Regions from separate parts of the Homo sapiens genome. Here region 1 is linked to region 2. Evidence: promoter capture Hi-C in human tissues and cell types (Jung and others, 2019). All regions are on one chromosome and are shown on one strand. The core of a region is centred on a gene start or on the middle of the fragment in contact, and the rest is flanking DNA. Distances in the headings are between cores, read along the strand shown. Region 1 has its middle 13 kb from the start of OR2M5. Region 2 holds the start of OR2M7 (olfactory receptor family 2 subfamily M member 7).

Evidence for each region. Contacts are between HindIII fragments. The study calls those that stand out against the background at their distance.
Region 1: a fragment that was not itself captured here is called in contact with the fragment with the promoter of OR2M7 in region 2 in 1 of the 25 tissues and cell types used here (neural progenitor cells).

The regions. Positions count from the first base shown.
Region 1 is chr1:248,129,001-248,135,857 of GRCh38, forward strand. No RefSeq gene overlaps it. Among named protein-coding and RNA genes, the nearest start is that of OR2M5, 13 kb to the right of the region's middle. The HindIII fragment of the contact is 6,525 bases long and covers 1-6,045 here.
Region 2 is chr1:248,322,741-248,329,425 of GRCh38, forward strand. It overlaps OR2M7 (olfactory receptor family 2 subfamily M member 7), which reads right to left and starts at 1,828. Exons shown (of 1, transcript NM_001004691.1): 1 at 890-1,828. The coding sequence starts at 1,828. The coding sequence ends at 890. The HindIII fragment of the contact is 10,500 bases long and covers 1-6,685 here.

The DNA.
Region 1 (6,857 bases), core at 1,533-4,032, 190 kb before region 2:
GAATTCACCACAGCACAGCAAATGAGCTGTGGACAGACTGCTTTTCTAGATTTCTCCTCACAGGGCAGGGCATCTCTGCAGGAAATCCAGAAGCTCCATTCAGGGGCTTACAGACAGAACTGTCATCGTCCTGGGACAGAGCACCTGGAGGGAGGACAGGCTGCAGTCACAGGTTCAGTGGACTTAATCTTTCCTGCCTGCCGGGTCTGAAGAGAGCAGCTGATTCTGACAAGGGGGTTCTCCCAGCACAGTGCTACAGCTCTGCTAAGGGACAGATGGCCTTCTCAAGCAGGTCCTGACCAGATGCCTCCTGACTGGGAGAGACCTCCCAATAGGGGTCGACAGACACCTCATACAGGAGAGCTCTGGCTGGCAACAAGCTGGTGCTCCTCTGGGACGAAGCTTTGAGGAAGCAGCAGGCAGCAACCTTTGCTGTTTTATGGCCTCCACTGGTGATACCCAGGCCAACAGGGCCTGGAATGGGCCCCCAGCAAACTATAGCAGACCTCCAGAAGTGGGGCCTGGCTTAGAAGAAAAACTAACAGAAAGCAACAACAATCAAAACATCAACAAAAATACCCACCCAAAAAACCGCTTCCAAAGATCATCAGCTTCAAAGATCAAAAGTAGGTAAATCCATGAAAATGAGCAAAAAACCAGTGCAAAACACTAAAATTTCCAGGAGACAGAATGTCTCTTCTCCTCCAAATGATTGCAGTACCTTTCCAGGAAGGGTGCAGAACTGGATGGAAAATGAGATGGATGAATTGACGAAGTAGTCTTCAGAAGGTGGGTAATAACAAACTCCGTTGAGCTAAAGGAGCATGTTCTAACCCAAAGTAAAGAAGCTAAGAACCTGGATAAAAAGTTACTGTAGCTGCTTACTAAAATAACCAGTTTAGAGAGGAACAAAAATGACAAGATGGAGCTGAAAAACACAGCATGAGAACTTCCTGAAGCACACACAGGTATCAATAGCTGAATTGATCAAACAGAAGAAAGGACATCAGAGAATGAAGATCAACTTACTGAAATAAGGCATGTAGACAAGATTAGATATCAAGCAGACAAAAGGATATCAGAGTTTGAAGGCCATCCTGCTGACATAAAGCATGCAGACAAGATTAGAGAAAAAAGAATAAAAAGAAGCAAACAAAACCTGTGAGAAATATGGGATAATGCATAAACACAAGACATTCAGAATGGCACCAAGTTGGAAAACACACTTCAGGATATCATCCGGGAGAACTTACCCCAACCTAGAAAGACAGGCCAACATTCAAATTCAGGAAATGCAGACAACACCACTGAGATATTTCATGAGTAGATCAACCCCAAGATGCATAATCAACAGATTCTCCAAGGTTGAAATGAAGGAAAAACTATTAAGGGCAGCCAGAGAGAAAGTTCAGGTCACCTACAAAGGGAAGCCCATTAGACTAACAGCAGATATCTCAGCAGAAACCCTACAAGCTAGAAGAGAGTGGGGCAACTATTCAACATACTTAAAGAAAAGAATTTTCAACCCAGAATTTCATACCCAGGCAAACTAAGCTTCATAAGTGAAGGAGAAAGAAAATGCTTTCCACACAAGGAAATGATAAGGAACTTCATCACCACCAGGCCTGCCTTTCAAGAGGTCCCAAAGGAACCACTAAATATGAAAAGGAAAATCTGGTACCAGCCACTGAAGTAACACAGCAAAATATGATGACCAATGATAGTATGAAGAAACTGCATCAACTAGTGTGCAAAATAACCAGCTAGCATCATGATGACGGGATCAAAATCACACATAACAATTTTAGCCTTAAATGTAAATGGGTGAAATCCCCAATTAAAAGACACAGACTGGCAAATTGGATAAAATATGAAGACCCATCAGTGTGCTATATTTAGGAGATCCATCTCATGCGCAAAGACACACAGAGGCTAAAATAAAGCGATAGAGGAGAGTTTACCAAGCAAATGGAAAGCAAAGGAAAGCAGAAGTTGCAATCCTACTCTCTGATAAAGCAGACTTTAAAGCAACAGAGGTCAAAAAAGTAAAACAAGGGCATTAAATGACGGTAAAGGGATCAATTCAACAAGAGAAACTAACTATTCTAAATACAGATGCACCAAATACAGTAGCATCCAGATTCATAAAGCCAGTTATAAGAGACCTACAAGGAAACTTAGACTCCCACACAATAATAGTGGGAGACTTTAACCCCCAACTGTCAATATGAAACAGACCAACAATACAGAAATTTAACACGGATATTCAGGATTTGAACTCTGCTCTGGATCAAGTGGACCTAACAGACGTCTACAGAACTCTCCACCCCAAATCAAAAGAATATACACTATTCTCAGTGCCACGTGGGGCTTATTCTAAAATCAACCATAATTGGAAGTGAAACACTCCTCTGCAAATGCAAAGGAATGGAAATTATAACAAACAAGGGCAACTGTTATAAGTGCCCTTGTCAATGCAATCAAATTAGAACTCAGGATTCAGAAGCTCACTCAAACCGCACAGTTTCATGGATATTGAACAACCCGCCCCTCCTTGACTCCTAGCTAAATAACAAAAGTAATGCAGAAATCAAGAAATTCTTTGTAACCAATGAGAACAAAGAGACAACTTGTCAGAATCACTGGGACATAGCTAAAGTATTGTTAAAAGGGAAATTTATAGCACGAAGTGCCAACATCAGAAAGCTGGAAAGATCTCAAATCAACACCCTGACATCAGAATTAAAAGAACTAGAGAAGAAAGAGCAAACAAATCCAAAAGTTAGCAAAAGACAAGAAATAACTAAGATCAGAGCAGAATTGAAGGAGATAGAGACACAAAAATCCCTTCAAAAAAATCAATGAATCCAGGAGCTAGTTTTTTTGAAAAAAATAACAAAATAGATAGACCACAGGCTAGACTATTGAAGAAAGGAGAGAAGAATCAAATAGACACAATAAAAAATGATAAAGAGGATATCACCAATGGCCCCACAGATATACAAATTACCATCAGAGAATACTATAAACACTTCTATGTAAATAAACTAGAAAACCTAGAAGCAATGGATAAATCCCTGGACACATACATTCTCCCAAGACTAAACCAGGAAGGAGTCAAATCCCTGATTAAACCAATAACAAGTTCTGAAATGGAGGCAGTAATTAATAGCCTACCAACAAAAAAAGCCCAGGACCAGATGTATTCACAGCCAAATTCTACCAGAAGTATAAAGAGAGGTTGGCACTATTTATTCTGAAACTATTCCAAATAATTGAAAATGAGGGGCTCCTCCCTAACTGATTTTATGAGGTCAGCATCATCTTGCTAACACAACATGGCAGAGACAAAACAAAAAAAAGAAAACTTCAAGCCAATATCTCAGATGAACATTGATGTCAAAATCCTCAATAAAATACTAGCAAACTAAATCCAGCAGCACATCAAAAAGCTTATACACCCCAATCGAGCTGGCTTCATCTCTGGGATGCAAGGCTGGTTCAATATATGCAAATCAATAAATGTAACCCATCATATAAACAGAGCCAAAGGCAAAAACCACATGATTCTTTCAATAGATGCAGAAAAGTCCTTTGATAAAATTCAACATTCCTTCATATTAAAAACTCTCAATAAACTAGGTATTGATGAAACATATCTCAAAATTATAAGTGCTATTTGTGACAAAGCCATAGGCAATATTATACTGAATCACAAAAGCTGTAAGCATTCCTGTTGAACACCGGCACAAGACAAGCATGCCCTCTCTCACCATTCCTATTCAATACAGTTTTGGAAGTTCTGGCTAGGGCAATCAGGCAATATATTTTTAAAAAGTATTCAAATAAAAAGAGAGGAAGTCAAATTGCCTTTTTGCAAGTGACATGATTCTATATTTAGACAACTCCATCATCTCAGCCCAAAAACAACTTAAGCTGACAAACAGCTTCAGTAAAATCTTAGGATACAAAATCAATGTGCAAAAATCACAAGCATTCCTATATACCAGCAATAGTCAAGCAGAGAGCCTGATCATGAATTAACTACCATTCTCAATTGCTACAAAGAGAATAAAATACCTAGGAATACAGCTAACAAGGGATGTGAAGGACCTCTCAAGGAGGACTACAAACCACGGCTCAAGGAAATAAGAGCGGACACAAAGAAATGGAAAAACATTCCATTCTTATGGATAGGAAGAATCAATATCATGTAAATGGCCATACTGCCCAAAGTAATTTATAGATTTAATGTTACTCCCTTCAAACTACATTGACATTCTTCACAGAATTAGAAAATACTTCTTTAAATTTTACATGGAATCAAAAAAGAGCCTGTATAGCTAAGAAAATCCTAAACAAAAAGAACAACCTAGAGGCATCATGCTACTTGACTTCAAACTACACTACAAGGCTACGGTAACCAAAACAGCATGGTGCTGGTACCAAAACAGACATATAGGCCAATAGAACAAAAGAGAAAATTCAGAAATAACACCGTATATCTACAGTCATCTAATTTTTGACAAATCTGACAAAAATAAGCAATGGGGAAATTATTCCCTTTTTAATAAATATTGCTGGGAAAACAGGCTAACCATATGCAGAAAACTGAAACTAGATCCCCCTCCTTACACATTATACAAAAATTAAGATAGATTGAAGACTTAAATATAAAACCCAAAAACATAAAATCACTAGAAGAAAACATAAGCAATACCATTCAGGACATAGTCATGGGAAAACACTTCATCACAAAAACACCAAAAGCAATTGCAACAAACCCAAAATTGACAAATCGGATCTAATTAAACTGAAGAGCTTCTGCACAGCCAAATAAACTAGCATCAGAGTGAAGAGGCAACCTACAGAATGGGAGAAAAATTTGCAGTCTACCCATCTCTCACAGTTCTAATATCCAGAATCTATAAGGAATATAAATGTACAAGTCAAAACCAAACAACTTCATCAAAAAGTGGGCAAAGCATATGAACAGACACTTCTCAAAAGAAGACATTTATGCAGGCAACAAACATATGAAAAAGAGCTCATCATCAGTGATTATTAGAGAAATGCAAATCACAACGAGACACCATCTCACGTCAGTCAGAATGGCGATTATTAAAAAGTCAAGAAATGTAATAAAGGAAGGTAACAACCCCATCTTTCAGGTTATAGGAAGAACCATAGGTCTAACTTCTGCTGTCATCTGACCCCACATTATAAAGCCTATTTAAAGTATGAAGTGGGTTATATTGAGTTAGCTATCAAAAAGAGTGAGATTTCATTCTATCTTTGCAAGCAGTTTGGTGAGTTGCCTGTGATGAATATTACATTCTCCTGTAATACTTACTCAATAATTAAATTGTTTTATTTTCTTCTAAATTTATGAAGAGGATTCTTGGGTTTTGAGGAGAGTTTGTTTTTAAGCATATTTCTCTAGCAAAGTACAAAAACTCAAGTTGCACAAGTAAATTTTATGGAGTACTAGGAGGTGAAAATGCTGTAAAAATAAAACAAGATAGGGAAATAAAATTCATTATGTTTTGAAATTTTAAATGGAGTTTTCTGAGAAAGCATGGTTGAGGGGTTGATAGTTGAACACTGCTCACATAGCATGAGATCGAGAGCAGGTAGAGCCCCTAGTCTTAACTCTATAGGAGAGGAGAGGATCAAGTGCAAATAGTAACCTGTGTGTGAGTTAAAGAAAAAAAAAGTCAGTGATGCATGTTGAAGCATAGTAAGGAAGGTTTTATTCAAAAACATTGTGAGACAATATACAGGAATAATTCAGGGTGGTTGCAGAACAATATAAAAATCTAGGAAGAAGTTTTGCATGACTAGCAAAATTCATGCAAAACTCAGTTATTGCTTGTGAAAAGTCAATTATTGCTTTGCTTGAGTTTATAAATTATTCACTAAAAACAGCCTCAGGAAAACAGGACATTCAACAGAGATAAAAGAAAATACATCAACCAGCAACCCTAAAAATGGGCCAACCAGTCCAATAACAACATCTTGAAGGTGTACACAAGGTCACAAAGCATTGACCAAGAAAGCAATAATTAGCTGCCTTTTTAAGACTGTACACATTTTACAATAATGTTTTTATTATTTCCCCTAATTTCTCTTAAAATCTCCTGAACCAGAGGCACAACTCAGAAAGGCAGTCTTTGAATGCCGTTTAATGGCTCCTCTAGGTTGTTCGCTTCTCAAATAAAGGTAACTTTTTTTTTAAACACCAAACCCTGTGTCTTCAGTTTGTGGCTTTCAGACTACAAGTGGTCCAGACCTAAGTTTGGCTAAAAGAGTAGTGTAAACCCAAAATAAATTCTAAGCCCCCAACTGACTGATGAATCTGCCTCTCAGCCAAGAACATTCCAAAGTAAACTTCAAATTGTTGTTCAGGCCATAATGGAAAGAGGGTGGAGGCTGAACATGCTTTATCCCTTATAAACTTCTCCCTTTGGAATTCAGGTACTACTGACCAACATCAACCATTAAAACAGATATACGTCTACAATAAAAACAGTAAAACATTGGTGCCATAAATTGACTATGATACACAAAAAAGTAAAAATATTCCTTGTTGATGGATTTTAAGAATCAATATTGTTAAAACGTCTATACTACACAAAGCAATTTACAGATTCAAACTAATCTCTATCAAAATACTAATAACATTCTTCAAAAAATAGAAAAAATTCTAAAATGCATATGGAATCCTAAAAGACCTAGAATACCCAAAGCAATCTTGAGCAAAAAGAAAAAAACTGGAGGAATCACATTGCCTGACTTAAAATTATACTAAGGAGCTATAGTAACAGAAACAGCATGATACTGACATTAAAAACAAA
Region 2 (6,685 bases), core at 578-3,077:
ATCAAACAATAATAGATGTTGACATGGATGTGGTGAAAAGGGAACCCTTTTACACTGTTGATGGGAATGTGAACTATTACAACACTAGGAAAAACAGTGTGAAGATTCTTTAAACAACTAAAAGTAGATTTACCATTTGATCCAGCAATACCACTACAAGGTATATACTCAGAAGAAAAGAAGTCATTATACAAAAAAGGTACTTACATGTTGCATGTTTATATCAACACAATTTGCAATTGCAAATAGATGGAATCAGCCTAAATGATCATCAGTCAATGAGTGGATAAATAAAAGGTGGTATATACATACCATGGGATACTATTCTTCCATAAAAATGAATTAATTAATAGCATTTGCAGCAACCTGGTTGGAATTGGAGACTATTATACAAAGTGAAGTCACACAGGCATGGAAATCCAAACATCGTATATTCTCACTCATATGTGCCAGCTAAGCTATGAAACACCAAGGCATAAAAATGATACACTGGACTTGGGGACTTGGAAGAAATGTTGGGGACTGGAGAGGGCTAAAAGACTACACATTAGGTACAGCGAACACTGCTTGGTTGATCGCTGCACTAAAATCTCAGAAATCACCATTAAAGAACTTATTAATGTAACCAAACACTATGTGTTTCCCAAAATGATAATGAAATTTAAAAATAAAAATGGAATGTCTTTATTGAAAATGCCTTATATTGTAGTCATAACTGAATTGAATATTAAAAAATCTAAAATAGTTTATCTGAAATAAATTATACTGGTACCCATCAATATGTTGAGCAATGCACACAATTAGTGATATTTTTAGGACTTAATAGAAAAAGAGAGACAATAAAAAGAAGACGTTAGCAGACAGCAAAACATGAAATTTATGAGGTAACTCAATCTCCAGACTTGCCCTTTCCTAAGATTTTCATTAATGCTCTGGTCACTTCCTTGTTGCGGAGGCTATAAATGAGAGGATTCAGCATGGGAGTGACGATGGTGTAGAATACAGACACCATCTTGTCCTGCATAGGAGAATGATGAGATGTGGGCTGAATGCACATGAACAAACCTGCTCCATAGTACATTCCCACCACCATGAGGTGAGAGGAACAAGTAGTAAAAGCTTTGCGACGTCCCTCTCCAGATCCCATGTGAATGACAGCCAGAATAACTCGAGCATAGGAAGTGATGATGATTGCAACAGGGAAAACAAGCATTACTATACAGCAGATGAAAATAACCTCTTCAAATATTGATGTGTCATTGCATGAGAGGATTAGTAGGGAAGGGAAGTCACAGCAGAAGTGGGCTATTTCCCGAGACCCACAGTAGGAGAAGGAAAATGTCGCTACAGCATCAATGATTCCATCTGTAGAGCCCAGGATCCAGGAGAAGGCAGTCATAAGTCCACAAATTTTGGGTCTCATGAGATTGGTGTATCTTAGAGGGTGGCAAATGGCAGTGTAGCGGTCATAAGACATAACAGCCAACAGAAAGCATTCGGAGCCAAGCAATGATATATAGAAGAAAATTTGTGTGGCACAGCCAGCCATAGAAATGGACTTGCTGCCAGACAAGTAGTTGAAGGCCATCTTGGGTACAGTGGTGCAGATGAGCATGAGGTCCATGAGGGACAGTTGGCTGAGGAGGAAGTACATGGGGGTGTGGAGCTGGGTATCCAGGTAGATGAGGAGAACCATGATGGAGTTTCCCATGAAGGCCACTGAAAAGATGGCCAGGACCAGAAAGAAGAGGAAGGTGTGGGTGGGGCTATGATTGAAGATTCCCAGGAGGAGGAAGTCAGAGTTGAAGGTCTGATTCTCCCATGCCATGATGAATATGCCTGTTACCTAGCACCGCAAAAACAGTTCATTAATTTGATAAACATTTACCCAGTGCCTTATAAAGCATGTGATTATGGTAAATTCTGTAGTTTGGTGATCAATACAGGATGGCCAGAATTATAAAACTCAAAGTTTAAGAATTATGGAATCATAAAGAAATATGTTCTCTCAGCAGTGTCTCACTTATAAAATTATGGAGCTTGTCCTAACTTTTCTTCTAAGCATTCTTTTTCTCCATTGAAAAATTACAATAACAATATCTACTACATGATCAATGGAGTTTTTCCAAAAAGAATATGTCTCCAAAGCAAACAGTTCCTAAAACATCAGAAGCCTGTTACAGGTAAATTGATAGAGAAATTCAGGTTCAGTCACCATGTGACCAACACAATACTAGAAATGGACAATAAATTTGTGCCTTTATTCACATGATAGTAGGCATTTTTCCTACCAGAGTTAAGAAAATGTGTATGTTTACCTATTACTTTACAGTTTAAAGTATTTTATCTATACTTTATAGTAAGTTTTCTATACAGTAAGTGGATTCACTGAAAAGATTTTCAATTATACAAATCTAAGACATATGCTCTTTTTTCTATAGCCCAGTGTGATGCATTGAATTATGTTTCTTCCCCAAAAGATAGCAAGTGAGCTTGTTTAGAAATACATAAAGGGTATAATTAGTTAAGGTGAGGTCAAGTTGGAGCAGAGTGGGTCTCTCTAATTCAATATGACTCATGTTCTGATAAGTGGGTGGCCATGTGAAGACTGAGACACTGAGGATACCATGTGATAGGGGAGGCAGGGATTGGAGTGGTGCATCTACAAATCAAGAAATGCCAAAAACTGTTAGTTATAACAGGAACCTGGGAGAGAGGAATGGGACAGATTCATCCTCTTAGAGCCCTCAGAAGTGTCCAACCCTGCTGACAACTTGATTTCAGATTTCTAGACTCCAAAACTATGAGAGAATAAATTTCTATTGTTTTAGGTAACCTGTTTGTGATTTCTCTGTACTGGCATTCGTAGGAAATTAATACATCCAATATATCCTATAGAAAATAAGTAGATATAAAAACAGAAATTAAGAAAAGCATGAGATTCATCCTTTCAACAACATTTATGAAGCCTGGCTATGTGTTGATCACTGGGGCTACCACAGTGACCAGAATAAAGAAAGCCCGTGTCCATACAGGTCATAGTGAGTGTGATCAGATGATGATTATAAAACACTTTATGTCATAAGAGGATAAACATTTTGGAGAAAAGTAAGTCAAAGAAGGGTGTTAGAAATGCACTAGTATGTTCACCTTTGAATAAAGTAGTCAAGGGAAACCTCACACATCTAATGGCTTTTGGCAAAGACTCTGAGCAAGTGAGAAAGACACCAGATCACAGGAAAGGGTTGTACGTATATAAATTCCACAAAATGAAATGCAATAAATAGAACATACACAGAGAAAATAGAAATGTGTGGAAGATTTTGGGAAAACATAGGGTTTTCTAATTTAGAGTTATGTTTCTTGTATGTTGTGGCATTAAGTTTTTATTGTGTGAGATAATAATAAATGTATGAGCAAAGCCAATATGTGAAGGGAGATTATTCCAGGCAGTAAAAAATGATGTCATAAACAGAAAGACAAGCCTGGTGAGTAGACTCACTTGACAGAAATGTACTTTTTTCATTTATTCATGCATCACATTTTAATGAAGAGACTGAAAACAACAACATCAATGAAAGGTGAAAAATCTAGGAGCAGCAAGGAAGTTAGAAGAAATCTGCAGAAGAGAAGGAATCTGGAATTTGTCCTCATGGGTTGAAATACAATTTTTTCAATAGGGAGGTAGTAAAGTATACCTTTTTGAGTTTTATTTATTTATATTAATTGTGAATAATATTGGTAAGAAAGAAAAAAAATACTCGAGCAGAGTTTTAAGTTTTCATTCAAGAACAACCTAACAAAACATGCCTCTTCAGTGCAGGGAAGACAGAGAAGGAATCTCCATAAGAGACTCTCATGAGATTAGAATGGCAATCTCTAAAATAAAAACAAATCATTTTTGTCAATCAGCATGAAGAGAGAAACAGGCTTCAACCTCCTCCCTTTCTGGTTTTAAAACAAATGGTTATCAAGAAGTTGGATAAACCTGATCAGTGGTAGCTCAGATCCAGGTCCAGTCAATGTCTTGAGAATGAGAAATGGGCATCTCTGGGATCTTCAGTGTTGGGGGTTTCCTACCAAAGGGTTCCCTTGTGTTGTCCTCAAGAGGAGGTGGGCTTTTAAGGTCAATCAGGGGAAAAGACGTTGTATTGCCTCAATAATTTCCAGTGCTTATGAGCTGAATTCGCTTCAAGAAAATAACTCATCTCAACTTACTTTATGGAACCACCTATTTCGACCATCATACTGTAGCTGTCCCAGTTTTCTTGATCTTGTCAACTGTTACAATACACAATTTATCCAAACTAAACTGTATTACCTCAAATTTCCACCATAATTTTTCTTTAACTCAGTCTGAAATATTACTCCAAGAAGGAAGCTATGTGGTCAAGTTCGCTTCTCCCTATGCTTCTTTTTCAGTTGGCAAAGTGTTCTTTACATTTGGGAAACACTACTTCCAAGTCACTAAGTTGAGATAAAATGGTGATTAATTCTACTTGATCACTTAGACATTTCTACCATATGTTTTACATTCCATTGAATGATGCAGCATTAAAACAAAATTGATTACAAATGTAAGTCTACATATCCCTCTGAATTGTATCAGTCACATTAGTTTAGGCTGAACTTATATAAATGCACTCTTATTTGTCTCGTATTTTTCACCTCCTTTCATTGCCTCAAAATTCTCTTCATACCCACGTGCTAAAATTGCCTTCCTTGATTTTGTGCTGTCACAGAGAATGTGGCAAGATATATCACAAATTTATAACAGTTTATAAGTGATAAAATTGAAAATATTGAGCACTAGATTGCCCTATGCCTTCTATATTAAGATCCATATGAACATTCATTCAATAAAATTCTATAAAGAAAAATAATATTGTTTCTAATGAAAATTTGACATTTCTTCTAAGTTAGTAAGATACATATGACAGATTGTGCTTACCTTTAGGCACCAGGAATATGAGACCCAATCCTGAAGCTCAGTGTAAGTTATCCAGGATATAAACAATCTGAAAATGCAGTGAAGATAACATTGGGATTCCAAGAGGTATTTGTATATATTCCTATAAAAATGGATCTGTGGTGAAATATATTTGCAACTCCAAGTTATCCAGGACTCTTCACTGCCAAAAAAAAAAAAAAAGCAGAACATTTAGAGCTTCAGCTCTGTACTAGGAGGAACATAAAAAGCAGCTTTTTCAGAATGGCTCTGAAATTATGACATCTTGTTTTTTATTTTTTTAGAATACCTATTGATATTTCAAAGGTATTCACATAATGAGGTACAACATTTTGAACTCTGCATTAGACATTGCCTACCAAGTATTTTTCCCTTAGTTGTAATTTTATGCTTCTAATTTTATTTATTTTATCTAATCTACATTGTTTCTGTTGTAATAAACTCCATCATTTTGTAAAAAGATGGTGCATAGATTCAGTATTTTTAAATGTCTTTTTCATATATTAACCTCATCACATCTGGAAGAGGAGTCATCAGATTTCATTACACTGTGATACTGTGCACATGCCCAGAGCAATATATTGTAACACAAAATCCATGAAAATCATGGTCAGATTTTATGACACTGTGATAACTGTGCACAGGCCAGAGCAATAGTAACAAAGAAACCATGAAAATCTAGGTGAGAAATTGAGAAGGCACTGAGTGAGATGATGGAAAAGAGGCATCAAGAGGCCAGAATTTGACCAAAAAAAAAAAAAAAAAAGTAAAGCATTACGTGAAATAATGTCAGACAGCATGTGTAATCCACTGTGTAATCAACTGAAGTTGCTAAAATGACTTTACCCTTTTGTAATAGGAATAATCAGGAAATAAAACAAAAAATCTCTCATATTAGCAAAATGAGCATAGCAGTTTTATTTGTAATATGAAAATGCAACCTGCATGTGCACTGGCAATGGAATTTATAACTATAACTACAAGAAGTAGCATTCATGAATCTCACAAATAGAATGTTGAATGAACAAAGTAGATCACAGGGAATGCCCTCATGAATCCTATTATAGTAATTTAAACATACATATAGAAACCATTTATTAAGTGCAGCAATCCTGGAATAATGATTACCTGCAAAATGGGCTTGAAAGTTTACACAATGAGAGAGAATTGAAGTGTTTTTTCAAAAACATTGGTAATATTTTAAAGGATTTTACAAAATGTATATCTACCATATTTTTTAATAAACATTTTTGTATACTTGAGCTTTAATAAAATATATGTAAATATATGTAAATGTCTTAGAAGAGCACATGACAAATGTAAAGCATTCATTACTACAGGTCCAGGATTCCTTATCCAAAATGCTTATGACCAGATGTGTTGCAGATTTCAGACTTGTTCAGACTTTGGAATATCTACATGTAGATAAAGAGATATCCTAGGAATGGACTCCAAGTGTAGAGACAAAATTCATTTATGTTCGATGTATACCTTATACACATAGTCTGAAGGTAGTTTTATGCCATATTTTAAAATAATTTTGTGTAAGGGAGAAAGTTTGTGTACACTGAACCATCAGAAAGCAGGAATGTCACAATCTCATGTCAGCACTCAAAAAGATTCCGATTTTGGAGTACTTTGGATATTAGATTTTTGGTTTAGGGATTCTCATCCTGCATGAGCTACAATTATTAAAAGAAAAGAGAATGTGGTCAA